Linked DNA regions of Homo sapiens: region 2 is linked to region 1. Evidence: promoter capture Hi-C in 16 types of primary human blood cells and fetal thymus (Javierre and others, 2016). All regions are on one chromosome and are shown on one strand. Each heading gives the region's core, a stretch centred on a gene start or on the middle of the fragment in contact. The rest is flanking DNA. Distances are from core to core; before and after follow the strand shown. Region 1 holds the start of ZBTB39 (zinc finger and BTB domain containing 39). Region 2 has its middle 7.9 kb from the start of LRP1.

The links. Contacts are between HindIII fragments. The CHiCAGO score rates a contact against its expected background, and 5 or more counts as called.
Region 2: a contact is called between a fragment that was not itself captured here and the fragment with the promoter of ZBTB39 in region 1, in 9 of 17 cell types (erythroblasts, naive CD4 T cells, endothelial precursors and 6 more). The highest score is 8.3, in erythroblasts.

Annotation. Positions count from the first base shown.
Region 1 is chr12:57,001,576-57,009,163 of GRCh38, forward strand. ZBTB39 (zinc finger and BTB domain containing 39) reads right to left here and starts at 4,971. Exons shown (of 2, transcript NM_014830.3): 1 at 4,830-4,971; 2 at 1-3,386. The coding sequence starts at 3,342. The coding sequence ends at 1,204. RefSeq lists silencers at 4,640-4,789, 4,810-5,169. The HindIII fragment of the contact is 1,523 bases long and covers 3,730-5,252 here.
Region 2 is chr12:57,116,805-57,124,392 of GRCh38, forward strand. No RefSeq gene overlaps it. Among named protein-coding and RNA genes, the nearest start is that of LRP1, 7.9 kb to the right of the region's middle. RefSeq lists an enhancer at 2,145-2,334. The HindIII fragment of the contact is 3,452 bases long and covers 1,355-4,806 here.

The sequences.
Region 1 (7,588 bases), core at 3,721-6,220:
AGGGCCTGAACCAGCTGCCATCCAATAGCGCCCCCTGGAGGTGATGGCAACGACAGATCAGGATAAATTCCAGCAGGTCAAAGGTGAGCTGACAAAGCTCCGGCACTGTTAGCACAAAGTAAACAGGTTACCCGACTAGGACAGACAGTCAGAACGCACACCCTGCTACACACCACCAGTTACTCAGGTCCCTTTAATCCTGAAGGGCTCGCGGTCTGCCACTCCACCACTTCATGGAGTCAGCTCATCTACACCACGGGCCAAACACTTCTGGACGGGAGACCAGATATAAATTAAGGCAAGGCTGCTGCTGTCAGATACATCCCCACCTCTCCACCAAGACACTCATGGCCAACAGAAGTGGCCAAAACAGATGACTATATCAAAGTGGTTCCCTATCCTCTCTGCCCCACAGAAGGCCGGACGTCCCGGGCCATCACTCCATAAAATCCTGTTTCTTTGGAAATGAGGAGAAAAGAGAAACCTCTCCTGTCCATCCAGGCTGCCACTTCTGGTGGCACTGCAGGACACCCCTTCTGGCTGGCAGGGGTTCATCCCAAAGCTTTCTGACCTAAATAGAAAGCTCTGTGCCTAGTATGGATCTAGCTGCCAAAAGATTTTCACTGTTCAATCAGCAGATTAGGGCTGTAGATAAGCAGACACCAACATCCCTGATGTCTTGTCCCTGCTGAGGGCTGGAACCTGAGGGGACTGCCCTGCTGACCTGTCTTTTCTGAATGATCACATTCCCAAAATCTTTCTCATTGCTGGTCATCCCAGTTGGAGGCCTGCAGTAACACCCACAGTGAAAACCTCCCTTTACCTCCTCTGTTAAGTGAGGCTGTTGGTTGGATTCTTAGCAGCATAAAACCTATCAGTAAACTAAAACTAGAGAGGCTGGGGAAGGGGGTCTAGTGGACACCAACTGCTTGACTAGATCCCAAAACCAGCCTCAAAAGAATGAAAAACATAGCCCTGCATGGGCAAGAACAGGTATGGAGGTAAATGTGATAGGGCTGTTGCTTCTCAACAACAGTAACAGCTTATGTGCTATTTCTTCTTCTTTTCTTCTTTAAACACAACACAGAACAGAATTCCTACCAAGGCAAAATTATAACTTCAGCTGGGGAGGGACCAACACCTCTTAGATATCAGCATCCTGGCTGCTGCTTGGGAGCTCCCCGTGGCTCTGCCGGGACCCAGTCAACTGTCCGGGTTCTTATCCGCCTCTTTGGAATGGATGATGTACATGAAGGTCTGCTCGATGGTGAAGTCAGGGGGGAGGCTGCCTTTGTGCACACCAACATGTTTGCTCATGAGGTTAAGGGTGGAACTGTAGTGCCCACAGACTGTGCAGCGGTACATGAGGGCCCCCGAGTGTGTCTTTAGGTGGCACTTGATGGTCGAGCGGCCTCGAAAGAACTTGTGGCACACCTTACATTGGTATGGCTTCTCCCCCGTGTGGATCCGCCGGTGGTAGTTGAATTCGCTTGTGTGGGCAAATCTTTTGCCACAGACCTTGCAGCTATACTTGCTGTTCCCAGGTTGGCCCTGCAGCGCCAGCTCTTCACCCAGAAACTCCTCTGCTGGCAGCTTCCGCTTCTGGAGAGCTGGGTGCTGCAGCCCAAAACCAGGCCGTGCATCAAGGCCACTGTTGCATTTGTGCTGGCTGACGTGGTAGCGATAGGCAGCCTCTGACTTGAAGCTCTGGCTGCACAAGCGGCAGTGGAAGAGGGCGTCTTCCAGACTTTGGTGCACAGCCATGTGCTTCTCTAGAAGATGCCAGTCCACAAAGCTGTTCGCACAGACAGAACAGGAGAAGACTGAGATGCCGAGATGGGACAGCGTGTGCCACATGAGGCTGCAGAGGTTAAGGTGACGCTGGTCGCAGACACTGCAGGCCTGGCCCTTCAAGTTTAGATGGTCAAGGATGTGGCCCCGGACCACATGGAAATCTTTGGCCAATACTTTCCCACAGGCAGCGCATTTCAGCTCTGGGGAGGCTGCCCCTGAAAAGAGACCCAGCTTCCCTGGCAGGGGATCGTTGGGGTGGACAATGATGTTGTTCTCAAATATTCCATCCCGTCGGTGAAGGGTCAGCTGCCACTGGGTAAAGAACTTAGTTTCACACATGTCGCAGGAGAAAAGGAAAATACCAATGTGGGACAGGACATGAGTTACCCGGGAGTTTCGGTCCTGGAAGTGGGTCTCGCAGACCTTGCAGTTGCCCGTCAGCAGGTCCACATGGTCCCGAGCATGCTGCCGGATCAGTTGAATGTTGGGCTCTAGAACTTTCTTGCACACCTGGCAGGGCATGGCCTTATTCTCCCGATTGTCATTCTCTCCAAAAGCCAACTCATCCTCACTGTCATCACTCAGCTCAATCACCTCCTCAGTTGTGCCTATATCCTCAGCAGGGTCTTCAAACTGCAAGTCATCATCCCCCAGGTCCTCGAGCTGGAGCTCATCCATCTGCCCAAAGCCAGGATCTTTGGAGTGCTCACTATTGCTCAGACAGGAGTTGGTCCCAGTGGTAATGTCTACTGCATTGTCAGGGGTGAGGAAGCTGTTTTTACTGAAGTCTCCATTGCTTTGAACTTTGTATGGCTGGCAGGAGCTCGTGCTGGTCTGGATGCCCGTGCTGACAGTGCCTAGGAGTGGCTGGGTCATCATGCTAGGAATGGACGTGAAGGGAGCAGGGGTGTCATGGTCTTCTGTCTTTGGCGGTGGTGGGGGCGGTTGCGGCAGATGCAGGCTATGGTTAGCGTCACTGGCAACATTCTTCTCTTCCTCTTTATAGCTCCCTCCAGCATCACTGGGCAACACATAGTTTCTATCAGCACCAAGGTAGTCCCCACCACCTCGGAGTTCTCCAAGGGGATGGGCAGGTTCTGCCGAAGGACAACTCAGGGTACCAGAGTGGCTCTCACTGGTGCTGGTCAGGGGCTTGGCCCTGGCAGTGCTCTCCAGATCAGGAAAGGTAGAGTGACAGGCCTGGAGGAGGTCCTCCATACCCAGACGCTCAGCTACCTCGTAGATGACCCCAACATTGATCAGGTCTGTGAAGAGTTCTGAAGTGTAGACAAAGCTCAGAACCTTCTCAAAGTTGGCAGGGGTGATGAAGTCCACCACATAGGTCCTGGCAGCATCAAGCCCAGTATTCAGGAAGAGGTTCTGGAAGTAGCCAGCTGCACAGGCCAGCACAGCCTTGTGGGCCGGGAAGGAGCGGCTCCCCACCACAATGGTGACGTCGCACATGGTCTCTGAGAGCCGGCACTTGTTGAGTTCCTTCAGCAGGTTGTTGGGGTGGTTGGTGCTTTGCAGTTTGATCCTCATGCCCATCTTAGCAGCTCCTATGAAATTACCTCCTTATCAGCACAGTTAATCTGTGGATAGCAAGAGAAAAAGATGGATGGCCAAACACATCCGTGCAAAAGAGGGGCTATGCAGGAGAAAATACCATCACTCTGAATGCTTCCAAGCCCCAGGTAGGGATCAGGAGTAAACTGGCATGGAGAGTTCCTCCATTATGACAAGGCAATGACATCTCCCCCTGTATATACTCAAAGAGTTATGACAAAAACCAAAACGACTGATGACAATCTGATAGCTTGGTTTTAAGCTGGTGCCTAGAGACGAACCAGAGGCATTCCCTTGGACACAATCTTATACTTCATTACCAGAGCCACTGGATCAAATTTTTCTCCTATTAATTTCCTCCCAAATACAAGCTTTCCTAATTCATTGAGCATATTCTTTTCCCTCATGATGCCAAATACCATGCACATGCTTGAACACAACTATCAAAGCTCCACTAGCTACTGAGGAACATATAAGGTGGTTCCGTTTTTTAGCTTTGTCATTGCTGTGTCTTCAACCTCTCAATAATCTCCAAATAAATCTCACGTTCTTGAATCCCCATCTCTCTCTGCCTATACTACATACCCGCTCTCTGGCCTTTCGATAACCCAGAGCCCCTCCAGATATTGCTTTATCACAGTCCCTGTATTCTGTGAAGTTAAAACACTCAGAATGCACAGTAAGAAAAGTAGAACACAACTGTGGTAGTATTTAATATTACTTTAATATGTTGTATTCTTTTTCGCCACCCTTTTCGGGGTTTATATTTTGTTGTCCCTGCACTAACAGATTTACTTGATGCCGCAAGAAAGACTTCTAATTATACAGGTAAGACTCCTAGAGGCTTGTTCACTACCACTTTCTGCCCTTTCTGACTCCTGCACGACTAAGGAAGAAGAGCTACTTGCATCCCTGTTCAGTCTCACAACTCTGCCCAACACAGCCCCTTTCTCCATCTCTCCAGATTCTAACAACTCCCAACTTTTTCTGGGGCCCAGGAAGCGTCTAAGTATTGTGGGGTACCGGCCAAGCATCTCCCGGGCCCTGGTGGCCACCCCTGAACGATGGGCGGGTCGGAGCACTGGGCAGCCAGAGGAGAGGGTGGGAGAGGGGGAAGCTGGGAACTTCCAAGGACACCCCAACAATCCCCGGGCGCCGCGGTCTCCCCTCCGGAGTCGCATCTGGGAGGGAAGGGCGCTGCATCGGCTGGGGCGCTCCCTCTGGAGGCAACGAGCGCCTCAGTCCCTCCACAAACAGCGCGGGGCTCACCCGGGTGAGCCTGTTGGGGGCATGGGGCTGAATAAGGGGCCAAGCGAGGGGCGGCGGGGCCGGCCGGGGTCGGCGCGCGGGCGGGGAGGATGGGTCCGGCCGAAGGGAGCGGGCAAGAGGGACCCCAGCAAGAGCGAGATAAATGCCGGGCCGAAGGTCGGGCTTCGGCCAGGGGCAGCCCTCGGCCTGGCCGCGCTTACCCGGCTCTGCGGCGCCCCGAGCACCATCGCCGCCGCCGCTTCACACAAAGGCCCCGGCCCGCCGTGCCCGGCCCGACGAGGAGGCGGCGCCGCCGGCCGCGGCCAGACTCTCCATCCGCCGCGCGGCTCGCCGCGACGGCCCGGGCCGCCCCCGCCGCCCGGCCCGCAGCGCCCCCCGCCGTCCCGGAGGAGGCAGCGCCCCCCGCCGCCCGGCCGCAGCGCCCCCCGCCGCCCGGGAGGAGGCAGCGCCCCCCCACGGCGGGGCCGGGTCCAGGACCTGCGCGAGGGGTGCAGGGGCTTCCAAGTCCCCAGGCTGGCTTTTTCTAAGCGCCCATCCACTGTGCGCGGGACTTGGTGCCTGAAGAGTGAAAAACCCTATCCAAACTCTCTTCACCTCCCCTGTTCTACGCTCACAGTTCCAAAAGCTTCTCCTCAGAACATCTACTATGGGCATTTTACAAAATGTTGTAAGATTGTTTGATTACTATATATCTCCTCCACTAGGCTGTGGGCTTCCTGAAGGCAGGGATCTGTGGCTTTGCACACGGCCGCAGGTCCACACTGACCCTTACCACACTTCCTGGCACAATAAGTGCTTAATACATTAAGCCTGCTTGAATGAATGAAGGAGCACTTGAGGGCTAGACCGCTACTACTGGACCCTTCTGATAATCCACTGCTGTCCCTCCTTCCATCTAGGTGGCCAAATGAAGAAAGTCACCGGATCTCACTGTACTTTGGCACCCCAGGCCTGCTTCCTGAAGCCTGCCCTCCCCAACTCTGTGTAGAACTCGATCACTCTTCCTCCCCACCCTTCTCCCAAATCATCTTTTCAAATGCTTCTGCCCAAGAATTGTCATCAAACGAAAACCACCTACACTGCCTGCCCCACCCACCACCACCAAAGACATTAGAAGTCTTCGTCATGTCGCCCTCCCTCCCTCAGTACAGAGGAAGCTCTTAGGCTCCAAGACCCTTCAGTTTCATCCTCTCTCCCATCCCATCCCAGTCACTGCCTGAAAATAGCTTGCAGCCAAGGACAAACTCCCAGGACAGGCGCATGGTAGGATTCAGTAATTCCTTGATGGATAAGTGGAAAGGAAGGGACACACTGAATGTTGCCAACAGATCTAAGCCAGTTTGGCCATTCAGCAATTGTCCATTCTCTTGATGAATTTGGGAGATTGTGTGTCCTCCTTTCCACAACCTCATTAACTGGTGGCAGACTATACTGAAAGCAAGCACTATACCAAATGCTGCCAAACATGTAACATTTGTTAGCCAGGAGATACAAAAACAGCCATAGAACTGTTCTTATAGTTTGGGGATGAGGCATCTCACTTTACCATCTAGTGAAAGGGTCACTTAGAGGTTGACACAATGTTTCAGTGGCAGGCCCAGCTCTCACAGTTGTGCAAGGTGACTGAGTCTCCCTAAAGTGGAATATCACACAGCCAGCAGGTCCAGACCTCCAGCATGACTCTGGAGACAGAGGGCTGCTGGGCTTGCAAGGGCCTGGGCCTATACAGTCTTTCTAACCAACTGCCCCAGCCATCTCTGGAGGGTTGACCCCAATAAACTTCACATGAAAACAAATCATCCAAAAGACGCAGGTGAAAGTATATACCACTTATACTGAAGTCTTTTTAAAGTAAATCACCATATAGTCACAATAACAAACATATACAAAGTTAAATGGAGAAGAAAGGGCCAGGAATTTAGTCAAGGTCTTGTGGACCAGATCTCTTTAGGCATCAACTGTTTTACAACAGGAAAGGGAGGGTCAGGATCCCTTCACACATTCTTCAAGTACAAACACAGGAATCTAACTTAACATTTGTCTTCATTTTTTTCTGGAGTCCCCAGTACTGCAATTTTTGTCAGTCCCACTAGAGAGCAATCTTTCTGCACTTAATGTTCCTACTTGCAAAGCAATTGTCTCATCTCAGCCTATAAGCCTAACTCCCACCAAGTCTGAGCAGAACCAACTCTTGTAGCTTTCATGACCCAGAGAAAGCCCCTAGACTCTGCAAAAGTGTCCCCAGTTTTAAGCCCTATAGATAGATAATTTTGAAAAGTCAAAGAGATGACTCACTGGAAAAAGGGTCTAGGCTCTGGGGTGGGGGCATTCTTTGACCTCTGGCTATAAAGCTGACATAAGTAATACTAGGGTGAGTATTCCCTCCTTTCCCCGCCCCCCACTATACAGCTGTCATTCCAAAGTGGCCCCAAGTCAGGCTGTAGGAAGATAGAATTTTCACTAGAATGAAAGGACTGCAGGAAGTGGCCTCTGGCTCTGTGGCCCTGTCCTTACACTGCCTTGGGAAATCTATGTGTTGATGTTTTATCAGTGCAATTCAGGGGCATAACAAAGGCCCCTGTACCACGCTAAGATAAGGAGCCTGAGGATTTCACTGGCTGTTCCATTAGGGTACAGAACCCCCCTTAGGATGGCGGGTGATAGTTGACATCATAGATTAGTAAAAGACATCCATACCCATGCATACCACATGTAAGTGCCTTACACATTCTGGGGACTGTTAAGTCAGAGCTGCAGGAGCTGGTAACAGGCACTTTAGAGAGGAGTGGGAGATAAATGTTTTCCCTTTATAATAACTAAGGCAGCCAGTTAACGGTGAAGATATCTGCTCCTCTCTTTCTTGGCCTCGGTAGTAACTTCCCTGTCCACATCCCATCCTAGCTGGATCAAGTTCTGTTTGCTTGTCCACAGCCCTGCTAAACTGTAAACTCTGTGTATG
Region 2 (7,588 bases), core at 1,831-4,330, 110 kb after region 1:
GATGGATTTAAAAGATAAGTTCTGAAGCCAGGAGATCCATTCAGAAGGTTAATAACAACAGAGAGGGAGACGACACAGTTGAAGAGCAGAGGTGAAGCATTGTGGAATGGAGACTGGTTAGGAAGAAAAGTGAAGACATGAGGGGCCAGTGTCAAAGGAAAGAAAGGCAAGAAACTGGAAGTCTCAACAGACTTAAAGACCAGGCTTCCCGGGGGCAAGGGAAAGAAGAGCTGTAAGGCTAGGATGTTGCGGTCAGAATCTAGGGAGTGAGATTTCAGTCCAGCTCTCCTGCAAGGGTGTGATAAAGGTGGTGGCTATGAGAGTGAGTGGCTACAGCAACACAGAGGTAAGTCATTGGAGTCAAAGAGAACAAGGAACCAAGAGGCCAGGGTGTTGGCTGGACTACCTGCCGGAGCACTGAAACCATCTGGGTTTGTGGAAAACTTGAGGTGGACAGGAAGACAGTCAGCTGCTAAAGTCTTCACAGAAGGCCAGGCGTGGTGGCTCATGCCTGTAATCCCAGCACTCTGGGAGGCTGAGGTGGGCAGACTGCTTGAGGCCAGGAGTTTGAGACCAGCCTGGGCAACATGGTGAAATGCCGTCTCTCGAAAAAATACAAAAATTAGCCTGGTGTGGTGGTGCATGCCTATAGTTCCAGCCACTGGGGAGGCTGAGGTGGGAGGATCCCTGAGCCCAGGATGTCAAGGCTGCAGTGAGCCATAATTGCACCACTGCACTCCAGCCTGGGCAACAGAGTGAGAGCCTGTCTCAAAAAAATTAAAATAAAATAAAATAAACAAAGACTTCACGGATAAAGTGACCAGGACATCAGTGGATAACAGCAAAAATAATAACTAACACTTAGTGGGGCTTTATGTGTTACTTCAATTCTTACTCTAAAATTGAAGCACTGTACTTTTTATCCTACAATAATACTATGAGCTAGAACTATGTGCCCACTACAGTAGCTACTAACCACTTGTGGCTATTTCAATTTTAAAATTCAATGCCTCTGATGTATCAGCCACATTTCAAATGTGCAATAGCCATGTATGACTTGTGGCTACTATATTAAAACAGACACGGGGCATTTCCATCATCACAGAAAATTCTATTGGATAGTGCTGATAACCCTCATTTTACAAATGAGGAAACTGGCATGGAAAACTCAGCAACTTGCTCAAGGCTAAGGTGAGAGAGCTGGGATTCAAATCCAGTTAGTTTGGCACCAGAAATGTTGCCCTTAAGCCCTATGTTGCACATCCCAATGGAAGGTGAAATAGTTGGCTCTTAAAGGAAGAGGAATTTGATGTGACTACTGAGGCAAGCACTGGTGGTGCCTATTCAGCAGCCAAGCTTTTCTCCCTTGCTAGCAAAGTCTGGATTTCACACAGGTGTCCCCCTCCTATGTATTCACGGGGTGAATCTAATTGGCATAGCCAATCACAGTATTTCTATTCCCTTGGCCAGTGACCCAATCCTGGCCAATAGGACTTAGGGGGCTTCTGGGAAAGATTTTGTTCTTCTTCAGTGCCATGTTCACTTTTAGGATTGGAATAGCTGCAACCACGTTGCAACTGGGAGGGGAGATACCACCAACCAATGAGGATAAAGTATGAGTGTGAAGAGGTGGAAAACCTTTGATGAATCAACCAGCCCTGGACCTGCTATAAAACTCCTCATTGTTGAGCCTGCTTTAATTGGGTCTTCCATTACTTGCTGCTAAATGCATCCCTAACTAAGACCATGGTGAAGCTATATCGCCACAGGAAATGGAGACTCCAGGGTGGGCTGCCTGCCCATCCTCCCACTACCACCCGCCCTATACACTTGAGAGAATAAGCGATACCTCATTAAAGGAGGAATGTTCTCAAGGAAGGATCAGGTTCCAGACAAGCCAAGAGGGGCCAGGATAATGTGAGCCAGGGGTGGCCCCAGGCTTCAAGCAAGGAGATGGGTGGAGAGCAGTATAACAGTGTTAGGAGGAGGAAGGACTGGACTTAGTGGAGAAGGATGGATGCCAATCAAGGCCTGCCAAGGATGACAGGATGTGAGCAATGGTGGAGTCAGCTGATCTCAAGGCTTCAAATGGAGCCCTCAGGCTGTCAGAGGCTTACTGTGGCCAACCGACCTTTACTTCACAGAAGGACAAGTTAGCCATCCTGGTGAATGGGCAAAGTCAAGCAGCTCTGGATGGAGTCAGCTGTGGTCAGGATTGTGCCTCTGCAAGGAAATCTCAGTTCTCTAATTACTGTCTTGCCTCTCTCCCTTCCCCTGTGCAGCCAAGCATCTTGGGAAAATTATTCATATTCAGTCTTCTCTTCCTTACTTCCTCATTACACTGCCAGCTGGCTGCTGCCCCCACCAGTCATGAAACTGTCCTGGCCCATGTCACATACACCCTCCTAGGGGCCTTGAATGATGGCACATTCCTGTCTTTCTCTTGCTGGGCCTTTCAGCAGTACTCAACACTGTTAGCCATTCTTGAGTAAGTTCTCCCCCAACTACTTTTCATGATTCCTTTCTTGGTCTTCGGCCTACCTCTCTGCGTCCTCCCTCTCAGTCTCCTGTCTTCACGGGACACTCTTTCTGTGTGATCTCATCCACATCTGAGGCTCCACAGCCTGGGCAAGGCTATGTAGTATGGTGATTAAAACCTTGGCCGCTGGCAGACCACCTGTGTTCAAATCTCTGCCCTACCAGGTGGTTGCTTTGTAATACCCAAACTTCTATCAAGATGTGGATCATTACCCTCACCCCAACCCACAGGGGAAGCCACTGTTCTGATTTTTTTTTTTAAGTAGAGTAATATAGGATGTAGTTTTATGTCTGGCTTATTTTACGCAACATGTTTTGAGGTTCATCCATGTTGCTGCATGTATCCATAGTTCTTTCATTTTTCTTGCTGAGTAGTGTCCCATGGTGGATCTATACCACAGTTTGTTTATCCTTTTTCAAATGAAGGATACCTGAGCTATAGCCAGCTTTTGGCTACTGTGAAGAAAACTGCTATGAATATTCTGTGTTCAAGTCTGTGTGTGAACATATGCTTTCATTTCTCTTGGATAAATAACTAGGAATAGAATTGCTGAGTCACAGGGTAGGTGTATGTGTAGTTTTATAAGAAACTGCTACATATTGTTCCAAATTGATAGTACATTTTACATTCCCACTAATGATGTATGAGAGTTCCAGTTGCTCTGTATTCCCACTAACATTTGGTATTGTCAGTTTTTTAAAGTTTAATCATTTTGGTGAGTATTGAGAGGTATCACACTATGGATATAATTTCCTTTTTTTTTTTTTTTTTTTTGAGACGGAGTCTTGCTCTGTCACCCAGGCTGGAGTGCAGTGGCACGATCTCGGCTCACCGCAAGCTCCACCTCCTGGGTTCATGCCATTCTTCTGCCTCAGCCTCCCGAGTAGCTGGGACCACAGGCGCCCGCCACCACGCCCAGCTAATTTTTTGTATTTTTAGTAGAGACAGGGTTTCACCATGTTAGCCAGGATGGTCTAGATCTCTTGACCTTGTGATCCTCCTGCCTCGTCCTCCCAAAGTGCTGGGATTACAGGCGTGAGCCACCGTGCCTGGCATAATTTGCATTTTCTTAATAACTAAAGATGTTGAGTTCTTTTCTTTTTCTTTTTTCTTTTTATTTTTGAGACAGGGTCTCACTCTGTTGCCCAGGCTGGAGCACAGTGGCACAATCACTGCTCACTGCAGCCTCAACCTTCTAGGCTCAAGCAATCCTCCTGCCTCAGCCTTTTGAGTAGCTAGGACTGCAGGAATGCACCTCCATATCTAGATCATTTTTAAATTTTATTTATTTATTTATTTTGAGATGGAGTCTTGCTCTTGTTGCCCAGGCTGGAGTGCAATGGCACAATCTCAGCTCACTGCAACCTCTGCCTCCTGGGTTCAAGTGATTCTCCTGCCTCAACCTCCCAAGTAGCTGGGATTACAGGTGCCCACCACCATGCTCAGCTAATTTTTGTATTTTTAGTAGAGACAGGGTATGGCCACATTGGCCAGGCTGGTCTTGAACTCCTGACCTCGTGATCCGCCCGCCTCGGCCTTCCAAGGTGCTGGGATTACAGGCGTGAGTCACCACGCCCGGACTTTTTGTAGAGATGAGGTCTCGATATATTGCCTAGGCTGGTCTGAAACTGCTGACCTCAAGCGATCCTCCCACCTTGGCCTCCCAAAGTGCTGGGATTACAGGCGTGCACCACTGCACCTAGCCTCGAGTACCTTTCATATGCTTATTGTCCATTCATTGGGTTGTCATTTTATTACTATGTTATAGGAATTTTTAATATATCTCGCATTCCTCTGTCCCTTCTCAGATCAATGTTTTGTCTATCTATTTGGCTTACTTCCACATTTTCATAATAATGTCTTTTTTTTTTGAGTCAGGGTCTCACTGTCACTCAGGCTGGAGTGCAGTGGCACAATCAACTCACTGCAGCCTCTAACTCCTGGGCTCAAGCAATCCTCTCTTCTCAGCCTCTGGAGTAGCTGGGACTACAGGTGCACACCATCACACTCGGCTAATTTTTTAAATTTTTTGTAGTGACAGAGTCTAGCTTTGTTGGCCAGGCTGGTCTCAAACTCCTGGCCTCAAGCAGTTCTTCTATGTCAGCCTCCCAAAGTGCTGGGATTACTCCATAATGATGTCTTCTGACGAGCAAAAGTTTTCTATTTTGATGTTTCACTTATCAAGAAATTTATGTTATTGCTTTCTATAGCTTAAGAAGGGGTTGCTTTCCTCCAAATTATGAAGATATTCTGTGTTTTTGTCTAAAAGCTTTATGATTTTAGCATTTGTGGTTTAGGTCTATAATCAATCTTTTTTTTTAGACGGAGTCTCGCTCTGTCACCCAGGCTGGAGTGCAGTGGCGCGATCTCGGCTCACTCCACCCTCCACCTCCTGGGTTCAAGCAATTCTCCTGCCTCAGCCTCTTGAGTAGCTGGGATTACAGGTGCCCACCACCACACCCAGCTAATTTTTGTATTTTTATTTTTTTAATTAATTAATTTTTTTGACACAGAGTCTCGCTGTCACTCAGGCTGGAGTGCAGTGGTGTGATCTCAGCTCACTGCAACCTCCGCCTCTCAGGTTCAAGCGATTATCCTGCCTCAGCCTCCTGAGTAGCTAGGATTACAGGCATGCACCACCATGCCCAGCTAATTTTTGTATTTTTAGTAGAGACAGTGTTTTGCCATGTTGGCCAGGCTGGTCTTGAACTGAGCTCAGATGATCCACCCGCCTTGTCCTCCCAAAGTGCTGAGATTACAGGTGTGAGCCACCATGCCTGGCCTGTTAATTGTGTATTTTTAGTAGAAACAGAGTTTCACCATGTTGGGCAGGCTGGTCTTGAACTCCTGACCTCTGGTGATTCAACTGCTTCAGCCTCCCAAAGTGCTGGGATTACAGGTGTGAGCCACTGGGCCCAGCCTATAATCAATCTTGAATTAATTTTTGCATATGGTGTGAGGTAGGGGTCAAGGTTCATTTATTTCTCCCATATAGATATGAAGTTGTTCCATAACTATTTATTGAACAGACATTCCTTTCTCCACTGGCTGGCTTTGACATCTTTGCCAAAATCAAATGACCTTTACAGTGGGATCAGCCAGTTGGTGCAATACGAAGTCCCGCCTCTCATCCCCTCACAGAAACACAGATTTAACAATTTACTGATCAAAATACCTTTATGAGAAGTACAGAATCCGGTTGAGAAGTGTGGTACCCCAGACAAGTAGAGAGCTGAGAAAAGCTGCACTGAGATGGATCCTACATTCCTGGGTCTGGGAGTGGGCCTTTCCCAGAGATACCATCCTCCAGCAGTAAGAGACCTCCAATAGTCGGGTCTCAGACAGGTTCCAGCTAAGAGTAAAATCCCAGATCAATGGTGAAAAGGAGTTTAAGAATGGATGCTGAAGCCAGGCATGGTGGCATGTGTCTGTAGTCCCAGCTACTTGGGAAGTTGACAGGGGAAAATAGTTTAAGCCCAGGAGGTTGAGGCTGCAGTGAGCTATGATCATACCACTGCACTCCAGACTGGGCAACAGAGCAAAACTCTGTCTCAAAAAGAAAAACGAAGCCTGTGCCTAGTCAACATTGAAGCAAGAATGCAGAAGTTGCACAGGGTGAGATAGGGATGAGCAGGGTGGAGGGGTGGTAAACACAAAGGAATTGCAATAAGAAATCAAACAACTATCTGATTTTTTAAAATTATGTTGAGATATTTGGGGAAAATGATAGATGCATAGAAAACTAATCAAACGAAAAATAATTCCAAGATAAAAGTATATAAAAGTAACATTATAAAATAATAAACGCATATAGAATTTTTATTAAAAAATCAAATGATTGTGAGTCTATTTCTGGTTCTCTATTCTGCTCCATGGATCTGTTTGTCAATTCTCATGCTAGCACCACATAGTCTTGATTACTGTCACTTACAAGTCTTGAAATCAAGTAGCATAAATCCTCCAGCATTGATTCATTTATTTTTCTTTTTGAGACAGGGTTGCACTCTGTTACCCAGGCTGGAGTGCAGTGGCATGATCATGCAGTGATCAGGTTCACTGCAGCCTCAACCTCCTGAGCTCAAGCAATCCTCCCACCTTAGTCTCCTGAGTAGCTGGGCCTACAGATGCATGCCACCACAGCACTGGGATTTTTAAAAACTCTCCAGGTGATTCTAATGTGAGCCAAATTTTCTAGACTCAGATTTCTCTGTCACTATCTTCAGGCCTATACAGTTAACTGGTTAGTATACTAGATCCTACTTCTTTATTGTTTCTGAATCCTCTTCCTCTCCAGCTCCATCACTCATGCATTAAGGACTTCACCAATTTCTCAACTGGCTCTACACTACTTCTAGAAAAAAAATTCTAAGTCCTTACTGTGGCTAAAATCACGCTTTGTGATTAGGCTTTCTGATACTTCATCCAACACTCTCCCCTCAAAGTACCTTAAACTTCAGCTATGATACCATATTTGATGTTCTTCACATGTTTTAAACTTCTCATGCCTCCAATGCCTTTCCTGCCATCCAGCCTAAAACACCCTTTCCTTTTGTTATTGGTTGTCATTTTCTTCCTCTCATTCAACATTTAGCCTGGCATCATCTGCTGCTCTCTGTCTTGACCACCTTGTCTGGAAGAGGTATCCTTCCCATGTTCCCATGCCCTTCTGCACATGCCTTCATCACAGGTGTTAAGGAACTGACTGTATTGTCATTGTCTGTCTCTTGTTGAGCACCCAGCTAACCTGAAAGCTTCTTGAAGGCTGAGACTGTGTGTTTCCGTCTCTTATCCCTAGTGCCTAGCAATGTACTTGCTTATACGAGGTACCTAATATTTTTATTAAGTGAATGAAATCTGGGCTTGGATCTGCACCATTATTTGGGACAGATTCTTTAATCTCTCAGAACATTCTATTTTCTTATACACACTGGAAATAACACCCATGACAAAAGGTAGACTTAAGTGAGCTGATACTGTAAATAAAGTCCACTGCGTGGGCCTGGGACATGGTATGCGCTCAATAAATACTGGTCCTTTTCCCTCTCTCCG